Linked DNA regions of Homo sapiens: regions 1 and 3 are each linked to region 2. The links are contacts of gene promoters, found by promoter capture Hi-C in blood cells and fetal thymus (Javierre and others, 2016). All regions are on one chromosome and are shown on one strand. Each heading gives the region's core, a stretch centred on a gene start or on the middle of the fragment in contact. The rest is flanking DNA. Distances are from core to core; before and after follow the strand shown.

Region 1 (3,599 bases), core at 1,051-3,550, 970 kb before region 2:
GCATCCTGGGCCAGGATAGGTGATTGACTGTTGAACTTTTGACTGTGGGTGAGAGGGGAAAGAAGTGATATTGAGACCAGCCTCCAGCTGTTCAGGGCATGCATGAATATTAGGGGCTTCACAGCTGCCCTTGACTCTGCTCTAAGCTGTACTTCCTCCTTTCTCTGGGTGAGGCTTTCATATGAGGTACAGAGGAGAAATGAGGGGCTCAGGGAGCCAAGGCCTGGATGCTTCTGGGCATGGAGAACCTTGGTTCTGGGGCTGTAAGTTCTGAGCCCTGAACACAATATCTTTGATTGACAGGAGACAGAAGAAATTCTGGCAGATGTGCTCAAGGTGGAAGTCTTCAGACAGACAGTGGCCGACCAGGTGCTAGTAGGAAGCTACTGTGTCTTCAGCAATCAGGGAGGGCTGGTGCATCCCAAGACTTCAATTGAAGACCAGGATGAGCTGTCCTCTCTTCTTCAAGTCCCCCTTGTGGTAAGCATTCCTGTCCTCTGAACCCCGTCTCCCGAGGCAGATCCTTTTGCCTAGTGTTTGGGAGTCTGGGTCATTACCTGCCACAGTTTGGGACTGGGGCTGCAGGTCAGGGAGGAGCAGGGTTTGGGGAGAGTCTTCATTGAGGAGGGAGAGAATTTGGTGCCGTGACTCACATTGAGCCCATCCCTTGGCAGGCGGGGACTGTGAACCGAGGCAGTGAGGTGATTGCTGCTGGGATGGTGGTGAATGACTGGTGTGCCTTCTGTGGCCTGGACACAACCAGCACAGAGCTGTCAGTGGTGGAGAGTGTCTTCAAGCTGAATGAAGCCCAGCCTAGCACCATTGCCACCAGCATGCGGGATTCCCTCATTGACAGGTACCTGGGGCCTCTCCTTTCTTCTGCTCAGGGTTGGGGGTTAACTTGCATTTTGAGAGTATGGGGAAAAGATGTCATCTAGAATGGGAGCCTACCAGTTTGTTCTGGTAGCTTCTCGAGTGTGAGAGCATATCTGTACACTGCTGAGCAGATAAGAGCCAGCATATTCAAAAAATATTTCTTGAGCATCTGCTAATCCTCATCTTTGTGGTTTTTCAGGGCTAGGATACTAGAGCAGTAGCTGCTTGAGCAGCTTGTCAGAGCTGGTCCCGGGATGAGGGCTGAGGCAGGCACCTCACTTGAGAGTGAGGTGGGCTCTGTGAAACAGCTACTGACCGTGCGCTTTCCTTTCTCTTCAGCCTCACCTGAGTCACCTTCCAAGTTGTTCCATGGGCTCCTGGCTCTGGACTGTGGCCAACCTTCTCCACATTCCGCCCAATCTGTACCGGATGCTGGCAGGGAGGTGGCAGAGAGCTCACTGGGACTGAGGGGCTGGGCACCCAACCCTTTTCCACCTGTGCTTATCGCCTGGATCTATCATTACTGCAAAAACCTGCTCTGTTGTGCTGGCTGGCAGGCCCTGTGGCTGCTGGCTGAGGGTTCTGCTGTCCTGTGCCACCCCATTAAAGTGCAGTTCCCTCCGGGCCATTCTGAATGTGATGTTTGGGGCCCTCAGCCTGTGTACAATCCCTGCACTCTCCAGTTGTTCCAGCATTCTGGGAAGATAGGGTGGGATGAACACAACACACACCCAACCCAGTTCACCACCTCCACACACGCCATTCCCTTCTCCTCTACCATCAGGATGTGAGGCTTCATCCTGGGGCAAGAAACACTCTCCACTACAGTTCTCCTTTTTTCTTTTTTCTTTTTGAGGCAGTGTCTCCCTCTGTCACCCAGGCTGGAGTGTTGTGACGCAAGGATGGCTCACTGTAGCCTTGACCTGTTGGGCTCAAGCGATCCTCTCGCCTCGTTTATTTTTTTGTAGAAACGAAGTCACTGTGTTGCCCAGGCTGGTTTATACTCCTGAACTCAAGCGACCCACCGCCTCGGCCTCCCAAAGTGTTGGGATTACAGGCGTGAGCCACGGCGCCCGGTCTAGTTCTCACAGTTTTCACCCGACTTCTGCGCCGGTCTTCTCTGGCCTTGAAAGGCAGAGAGTCCGTTCCGATTTTCCCCTGAGCTGGGCAAGTCCCCTGTGAGAGCTCTGGGGCATCTGGCTTCGGGGCATTCTTTGACTAAGGTGGATGGAGGTTGCAGGTCTTTTCCTGGGTGGGCGTGGGGCGGGGCAGCGGGTTCCCAGCGTCCTCCTGGCCTGGGCGTCTTGGAGGCTGTTGGGGTGCATTCCGTCCCCTTGCGCGGGGCGGGGCCTTGAGGCGCTGGGGCGGGATTGGCGGGGGACGGTCGCGGAGCCCCGCCCCGAAGCACAGGGTCGAGTCCCTTCTTTCCGCTCCAACGCACGGAGGGTGAGGTCGGTACGCGGTGGTGGCGTCACGGCGCCAGCTCCTCCCGACGCCGAGGTGGGTTCCGGGAGACCCGCGGGTCTGGCTGCGAGAGGTGAGGGCAGAGCCGGGGCGGGGCCCTAGCGGGGTGTCCCGGCGACCCAGACCTTAAAGGGCTTCTCTTCTTGCAGACCATGGGGGCTCAGCTAAGCGGCGGCCGCGGCGCCCCGGAGCCTGCGCAAACCCAGCCCCAGCCCCAGCCCCAGCCTGCGGCGCCGGAGGGCCCGGAACAGCCCCGGCATCCGCCCCAGCCCCAGCCCCAGCCCCAGCCCCAGCCCCAGCCCGAGCCCAGCCCGTGGGGGCCGCTGGACGACGTGCGCTTCCTCATCGCCTGCACTTCCTGGTACTGACGGCGTCCTCCGCAGGATGTCGCCCGTCTGTCCGCCGTCCCCTGTGGTTCTTGCCTGCCTTGTCTCCTCTCCCCACGTCCCTGCGTCTCTTACACCCCCTCCCACCCGAGGCTCCCCAGAGATAGCAGAGAATTCGAAGAGGTCGCCGGGGACTGGAAAGAAGTCCCGGCAGGGCCGCCTTCGCAGTCTACACCCCAGCCTGCTTCCCAGCCTACACCCAGACCCAGCTCAGACCTTCGTGACCACCCCATCCCTTTCTCCGGCTGGCTGGGTCGGGGGCATCCCTCTCTGTCGCTGGCTTCCAGAGGCAGGACAGGCCTCCTGGTAAGCCCGCAAAGTTGCTGACCTCCTGACTTCGTCTGCCTTTTATTAATATCTGTATTGCTGATAACCGTGCTCTTGACTATGTGTCCCAGGTCATGTCCCAGGTCATGGAGAAGCCCGTGCCACAGTGACCCTCCCCATACTCCTGGGGGGGCTGCTCTCCATCCTGGATCGTAAGGAGGCATCATCAGGCTGTGTTCCTGGAACCCCAATAACCCTGGGCCCCCAGGGCCAGCCTGTTGTAGAGGGAGGCTATCTGACCGCCGGTCTGGCAGAGGAGATGGGTGGGCAGCTCCCAGACACCCCAAAGGACCCGGTTCTCTTCCCAGAGCGTCCTAAGGTTACTCTTGGAACCTGATCTTTGTTCCCTCATCCCAGGGAAATGACACACTCTGTATTTCTGTTTTATTTAGAAATGATTTAAAAAACATTATACAAAGGCTGATCAGTTTAAAATGTGACTGACACTGAAATGCTGTGATGTCCCCCAGGCTGAGGGGAAGCTAGGCTCTGGGGCCCCCAGTGCTTTGCCCCTCTGTCTGCCCTGTCCTGGGGTGATGGACAAAC
Region 2 (3,490 bases), core at 954-3,453:
GTTAGACTGACACGACTCACTACACACTGCAATGCACTGCAGAATGCTGAAAGGGATGCGTGAGGACCCTGCTGCCCACCTCCCAGGCGTGGACCCTCGTTCCCTCAGGAAGTCTCTGCTTGACATCGGCCCTCATGACTCTCAGACAGAGGTCAGATGTACAGATCAAGTGAGACCAATACATTTACTATGTCATAGAAGACCTTAATTCTTATTTTTATTTTTTATTTTTTGAGACAAGAGTCTCCCTCCGTCGCCCAGGCCGGAGTGCAGTGGTGCGATCTCGGCTCACTGCAAGCTCGGCCTCCCGGGTTCACGCCATTCTCCTGCCTCAGCCTTGCGAGTAGCTGGGACTACAGGCTCCCGACACCACGCCCAGCTAATTTTTTTTTTTTTTTGTATTTTTAGTAGAGATGGGGTTTTACCCTGTTAGCCAGGATGGTCTCGATTTCCTGACCCCGTGATCCGCCCGCCTCGGCCTCCCAATGTGCTGGGATTACAGGCGTGAGCCACGCGCCCGGCCAGAAGAGTTTAATTCTTTTCTCATTTTTAGGTTAAAAAATGAGTAGAGGCCGGGCACGGTGGCTCACGCCAGTAATCCCAGCACTTTGGGAGGCAGAGGCTGGCGGATCACCTGAGGTCGGGAGTTCGAGATTAGCCTGACCAATATGGAGAAACCCCGTCTCTACTAAAAATACAAAATTAGCCAGGCGTGGTGGCTCATGCCTGTAATCCCAGCTACTCGGGAGGCTGAGGCAAGAGAATCGCTTGAATCCGGGAGGCAGAGGTTGGTGTGAGCCAAGATCATGCCATTGCACTCCAGCCTGGGCAACAAGCGCCAAACTCTATCTCAAAAAAAGAAAAAACAAAATTAGCCAGGTGTGGTGGTGCGTGCCTGTAATCCAAGCCACTCGGGAGGCTGAGGCAGGAGAATTGCTTGAACCCGGGAGGTGGAGGTTGCAGCGAGCCTAGATGGTGCCACTGCACTCCAGTGTGGGCGACAGAGTGAGACTCCATAAAAAAAAAAAAAAATTCAGGGGAAAAAAAGCAATTAAAAAAACATAACTATAAAAATAATACAAATTACAAAACAACCATTTGCATAGCATTTACATTATATTAGTTATAAGTAATCTAGAGATGATTAAAGTGTACGGAGGAATGTGCATAGGTTATATGCCAATACTGCCTCATTTTATATGAGGGACTTGAACATAGAAGGGTTTTGGAGTCCACAGAGGTCCTGAAACCAATTTCCCCTTCCCATGCCTGGGATGACTGAATTATACAGCAGCAAAAATGAATATACTCAAGCTATATGCATGAGTCTCATAAATATAATGCTCACAGAAAAAAGCAAGTTGCAGAAGGGTAAATACGGTTGATATATAAAGGTGCTAAACACAGAACTATTTAATGATATACGGATGCAGTAAAAGTATAAGAAATGTATGCAAACTTACTTAAATTCAGGGTGTTGGTTACTTGGAGTAAGGCGAATGTTTGGGATGTCAGTAGGTACCTGACAAATGGCAACTTAACTTTGTTTTGGTTTTTTTGAGATAGGGTCTTGCCCTTTCGCCCAGGCTCAAGTGCTGTGGTGGGATGATAGCTCACTGCAGCCTCGATCTCCAGGCTCAAAAGATCCTCCCTCCCGCCTCCGCGTCCCAAGTAGCTGGGACCACAAGCGCGCGCCACCACGCCCGGCTAATTTTTAATTTTTTTTTGTAGAGTTCAGGTCTCACTGTGTTGCCCAGGATGGTCTTGAACTCCTGGGCTCAAGCGATCCTCCCGCCTTGGCCTCCCAAAGTGCTGGGATTACAGGTGTGAGCCACCGCGCCTGGCCTGCAACTTTACTTATAATAATCTGTGTGGCAGATGTCATTTGGCCCATTTTACAGATGAGGAAATTGAGGCACAGGGAAGTGAACTGGCGGAATTTCAGTTCCGCTGGGTTTTGACACTGAATCAACTGGCTGAACCAGCGAGAGGACGGCCCGGCTGGCTCTCAGGCCTCTCCCGGCGCTCCCTTCCGGACCGGTGAGTGAGACTCCTGGGGCCACGCCTTGTGAAATTCTGAGGCTTCTTTTCAGGGATCGAAATCCCCTCCGGCTCCGCCCTGCGCGTTGGGCCCCGCCCCAGCGGGTCATGAATATGCAAGTGCGAGGAAGATATTTAAAGGCGTCGGCGCCACGCGCATATCCCTGCTCGGCGCTGCCCGCCCAGTTCCTGTTCCCAGACTGAGGCCCAGCCCCCTTCGCCCGTTTCCATCACGAGTGCCGCCAGCATGTCTGACAAACTGCCCTACAAAGTCGGTGAGTCCCAGGACCTGCAGCCGGTTGCGGCCGCCCGGCACCCGCCCGGGGCTTGTTCGTGGCGGGGGCTGCAGGGCCGACTCGGGGCTCTCTGGACCCCCTGGAATCGCAGCCTCGGCGCGTTTCTGGCCGCGCGAAGCCAGCTGGAAGTTGGAGTTCTCGCGCGGCCATGAGCGGGCCGTTCCGGGTGGCCGTGGACTACAAGTCCCAGCATGCCCCGCGACGCCGGGGCCGCCGCGCGGTCTGCGAGCCGCAAACTGGCGGCGTGCTCCGCGGGAGAGCACACCTGGCCACGGCCTGGGACGGCTGGCACCTGCCGGACCCTGCTCGGGGGGCCTGCGCCCGGCCTCCTAGGCCTGGACCGGACCCTGTCCAGCTGGGCGGCCCCGACGAGCGTCCACCCCTCTCTGGGCCTCCTACAGGGACGGCGAGGGCACCCCGGAGGGTGTATGAGGAGAGGCCTGGAAAGCGAGCCCCAGGCCGGCTCCGATCCTCCTCTCCCCTGGGACTTTGGGCCAGTTACCCAACCTGTGGGGTCCCCCACCCCTCCAGCAGGGGCAGCCTTGCAGAAATCTCGAAGAAAATTTGGAGTGGTTTGAAAAATCCTGCTGTCCCACCGATTGAAGTGTAATACAGGGATAGTTAACGTTTACTTAGTGTTTCCTGTGGGATCGGCACTGCCTTCTAGCTTTATTCTAGTCTCATGGCTCTATAGGGAAACTGTTCTCATTTTATGATGAGAATCCTGAGGCAGAGGTAACTTGCCCTCAGTCTTACAGCTGGTGGTGATGGAGCAAGATTGGAACGCAGGCCATCTAGATCTCTGAGCGCACCCTTTCACCACTGTGTGCAAGCGAATACACGCGGAACAATCCTAGTGAATTTTCAGCAAAAACCAGTTCAGTTTGGCTGGTAGCTTTTCAAGTAACTTTGACACTATTGGACCGGGTGTGGTGGCTCACCCCTGTAGTCCCAGCACTTTGAGAGGCCGAGGTGGGCGAATCACTTGAGGTCAAGAGTTCGAGACCAGCCTGGCCAACGTGGTGAAACGCTATCTCTACCAAAAATACAAAAACTAGCTGGGCGTGGTGGCGGGCGCCTTCATTCCCAGCTACTCGGGAGGCTGAGGCAGGAGGACTGTTTGAGCCGGGGAGACGGAGGTTGCAGTGAGCCGA
Region 3 (3,576 bases), core at 78-2,577, 520 kb before region 2:
AGGAGGGTTACCAGAGGCTGGTAAGATTAATGGGGAGGTAGGTGGGAAGTGGGAATGATTAACGGGTACAAAAGAATAGTTAGAAAGAATAAGACCTAGTATTTGCTAGCACAAGAAGGTGACTACAGTAAAAAACAATTGGCCGGGCGCGGTGGCTCACGCCTATAATCCCAGCACTTTGAGGGGCAGAGGCGGGCGGATCATGAGGTCAGGAGTTCCTGACCAGCCCGGCCAATATGGTGAAACCCCATCTCTACTTAAAAAATATACAAAAATTAGCTGGGCGTGGTGGCATGCGCCTGTAGTACCAGCTACTCAGGAGGCTGAGGCAGGCGAATCCCTTGAACCAGGGAGGCGGAAGTTGCAGTGAGCTGAGATCGCGCCACTGCACTCCAGCCTGGGCGACGGAGTGAGACTCCGTCTCAAAAAAACAAAAATAAAACAAAAAACAAAAAAAAAACCACACACACACAAAATTTACTTGTACATTTTAAAATAACTAGAGTATAATTGGGTTATTTGTAACACAAAGGATAAATGCTTGAGTTGCTAGATACCCCATTTACCATGATGTGATTACACATCGCATGCCTGTATCAAAATCTCATGTACCCCATAAATATATTCACCTACTACGTACTTACGAAAATTTAAAAAATACATCAGTGTAGTGTGGGAAAAAACAGAAAATTTTTAAAAAAGAGTGAAAGCCAGATATGAATCCAGGCCTGTATGACAGACATGAAGTCCAGTGCTGAGGAGGCCTTTCTACGTTTGGGAAGAGGGGAGGGGCCACACTCGTTCGATCAATAATTCTATTTACTGAGCATTTTAGCTTGCTAGGGAGGTAATGATGGGAAAAAGAAGAGAGGGATTTAGAGGCAAATAATAATGAAAGCTTTTATCTATATCCCATTAAGCTTATTATTAGACAGTATGTGTCAGGCACGGTGACAAGTGCTTTCCAAGCCCACCTCCATTTGCTCTTCACAAGCACTATGATTTTCCCCATATTTCAGATGGGTAAACTGAGGCTTGGAGTTGCCATGTCCAAGGATACTCAGAGCGCTCGCAAAAGACTGTGCAATGTGTGCTTCCGAAGTGGGACTCACTGGCGAGAGAATAGCCCTGGAAAGCCGACAGAGACCCACGAGATCCCAGCACTAAGCACTCAGCACCGAAGGGAGCTGGCGCGCGCTCCACCTCGCGCTCCCGGGGACGTCTGGTCACGTGGGCAATGCCCCGCCCCTCGAGTCCGCCCCGCCCCCTCTCGCGCTCCCTCCCTCTCTCCCTCCCTCCCCCTCCCTCCCCGGCCCGGTCCGGCCCATCCCCCTCCCCGCCGGCTCCGTGAGGCCCTGCCGGGTCGGGCTGCGGGCGGCCGGGCGCGGGCGGCGGGACAGACGGGCGCACGCGAGGACTGACGGACGGACGCACCGAGGGCGGCGGGCACGCACGGCCCGGGCCGGCGCTCCAAGGCCCGCCCGGGAGGGCCGGGGCCGCGCTCAGGTGAGGGGACGGCGGCGCGGGCCCGTAAGGGGTGGGCCCGCCGGGCGTCCGCGGTCCTTGTCGGGCTGGCTTCGCGGGGAGGAGGCGCCGCCCGGGCCCGCGCGGAAAAATGGCGCCGGGCGACCGAGTGGCACGGTCTGAGAGCGGGCCCGGCCCGGAGCCGCCCCGCCCGCCGCGCTTGTGTCCCCGTCGCCATGTTGGGGAGCGGGCCCCAGGCCTGCGGGCGGGGGCGCTGGAGGGAGCGGCGGCCGGGCTGGGTGGGGAGGGTGCTGGGCGCGGGGGCCGGTGCACTGAGGGAGTGCAGGGCTGGCCGGGGTCTGCACGGGGTGGCGCTCCAGGCCTGGGGAACAGGCGGGAGCCGGTCGTGGGGTCGTGGTCAGGGTCGCGGAGAAGGAACACTGGGTCCGAAGGGAACCGGGATTGGGGTCTATGGGCTGAGAGGATGGCAGGACGTGGAACTGGGTTAGGCCTTAGGCGGTGTTAGAGCCCTAATGCAGGTAGGACCTGGGGATTGGGGTGGAGGCATGGGGGCCAAGCTCAGGCTGTCAGGGCTGGAGCAGTTCTTTGCTGGGAGGGAAGGAGGTGATTGATGAGGAATGAGGGCCCTTTGGGTACAGACGCTGGTTCAGATTGGGGCAGTCCTTGGGGTACTGGGGCTGAATTGCAAAGCTGTATAACTCCCAAGGCTCTGAAGACTTATGTCCCAAGCATCCTCCACCCCCTCTTGGGGGAAGCAACAGGAAAAAGGAGGTGTTTGATGAGAGAAAAGGGGGACAAAGGGAGACTGAGGTTTGGGTGCAGGAGCTGGCCAGCAAAAGAGGCACAGAGAGTGGAACTGGTTGGCAAGGAAGGAGAGAACCTTTATCAACTTAGGGAGTTGTGTGTGTCTTTAAAAGGAGGGACCTGGCTGTTTGGGGGCGGTGACCCAAGGTGTCTTCCCTGGAAGGGGACAGCCCACAGCTTAAGAGCAGAGTCACCTGGAGAGGTCATCAGAAAGGCGTTATTGAAGCCAGTAAAATGGTGAAGAAGAGTGAATGTATAAAAACTACAAAGGCCTGAGAGATCAAGTAAAGATTTCAAATCAGGTAGTGATTTTAGCTGAAACATAGAAAGGTAAAGTTGACTTTTCAAGATCTTACAAGTTAGTGGCAGAGGGGTACTAGAAATTGTCGGCTGCTTCCTCACTAAACACATTGCCTTAAAGGAATTTGCTAGCTGGGAGAAAGGTGTTAAGAAATGAAGCATAACATTCTTGTGATGAAACTAAAAGCAAACAAACAAAAACAACAAGAAATGAAGCATAACAGTATATACCAGATAACTATTAAATTTGTTTTCTTCCTGTAATGAGTGTGGCAATACAAAGGCTGAAGGGAATACAAAAAAGTATAGGCAGCCAGTTATTTGGTATTTCCTGGTTCATCTCTAATTGTGCAAAGAAGTTATCTTTGAGACCTTCTAACTTTCTAGAGTTTTAAGAGGTGCTCCGGCCAGCCACAGTGGCTCACGCCTGTAATCCCAACACTTTGGGAGGCCAAGGTGGGAGGATTTCTTGAGCCCAGGAGCTGGCAGACCCCATCTCTACAAAAGAAATAAAAAAAATTAGCCACCTGATGTGGCTTGTACTTGTAGTCCCAGCTACTCAGGAGGCTGAGGTGGGAGGATCGCTTGAGCCTGGGAGGTCAAGGCTGCAATGAGCCATGCTATGGTCATTCCATGACATTCCTGCCTGGGCGACAGAGCAAGACACTGTCTAAAGAAAAAAAAAAAAGAGAGATGCTCCTTCTCTTCTAGGTGTTTACCACAAAGGAACACAAAATCCTAAAAAAGAAAAGTGAAAAATTGTAGACACCCAGAGTCTCTATTTTATTAATTGAAGTTGGATCATGTTAGAGAAGAATTCAAAGTTCGCATGGGCTATGGGAGAGTTCTGAAGGAAATATGCAAATTAGTCATGGAAAATAGGTCCAGGGCCCCATATAATCAAAGAGAATTAGCGAACAAAAATATTATGCGGGCATATATAAAATAAAACTGTCAATACCATATGTATATACAGCAACACAATTC

The links. Contacts are between HindIII fragments. The CHiCAGO score rates a contact against its expected background, and 5 or more counts as called.
Region 1: the fragment with the promoter of MMP24-AS1-EDEM2 here is called in contact with the fragment with the promoter of AHCY in region 2 in 1 of 17 cell types (neutrophils); the score reaches 6.4 in neutrophils.
Region 3: the fragment with the promoter of NCOA6 here is called in contact with the fragment with the promoter of AHCY in region 2 in 1 of 17 cell types (activated CD4 T cells); the score reaches 8.3 in activated CD4 T cells.

What each region holds. Positions count from the first base shown.
Region 1 is chr20:35,276,823-35,280,421 of GRCh38, reverse strand. It overlaps MMP24-AS1-EDEM2 (MMP24-AS1-EDEM2 readthrough), which reads left to right and starts at 2,300. Exons shown (of 15, transcript NM_001355008.2): 1 at 2,300-2,376. MMP24 (matrix metallopeptidase 24) reads right to left here. Exons shown (of 9, transcript NM_006690.4): 9 at 3,424-3,599. MMP24OS (MMP24 opposite strand) reads left to right here and starts at 2,300. Exons shown (of 2, transcript NM_001355003.2): 1 at 2,300-2,413; 2 at 2,490-3,599. The coding sequence starts at 2,493. The coding sequence ends at 2,708. It overlaps EIF6 (eukaryotic translation initiation factor 6), which reads left to right. Exons shown (of 7, transcript NM_002212.4): 5 at 304-480; 6 at 675-856; 7 at 1,216-1,504. The coding sequence ends at 1,225. RefSeq lists silencers at 2,121-2,340, 2,431-2,650 and enhancers at 2,781-2,950, 3,071-3,170. The HindIII fragment of the contact is 17,447 bases long and covers 1-3,599 here.
Region 2 is chr20:34,302,068-34,305,557 of GRCh38, reverse strand. AHCY (adenosylhomocysteinase) reads left to right here and starts at 2,203. Exons shown (of 10, transcript NM_000687.4): 1 at 2,203-2,315. The coding sequence starts at 2,288. RefSeq lists enhancers at 1,839-1,958, 1,979-2,028 and a silencer at 2,599-2,828. The HindIII fragment of the contact is 32,031 bases long and covers 1-3,490 here.
Region 3 is chr20:34,823,402-34,826,977 of GRCh38, reverse strand. NCOA6 (nuclear receptor coactivator 6) reads left to right here and starts at 1,327. Exons shown (of 15, transcript NM_014071.5): 1 at 1,327-1,506. RefSeq lists silencers at 1,221-1,410, 1,421-1,860. The HindIII fragment of the contact is 10,135 bases long and covers 923-3,576 here.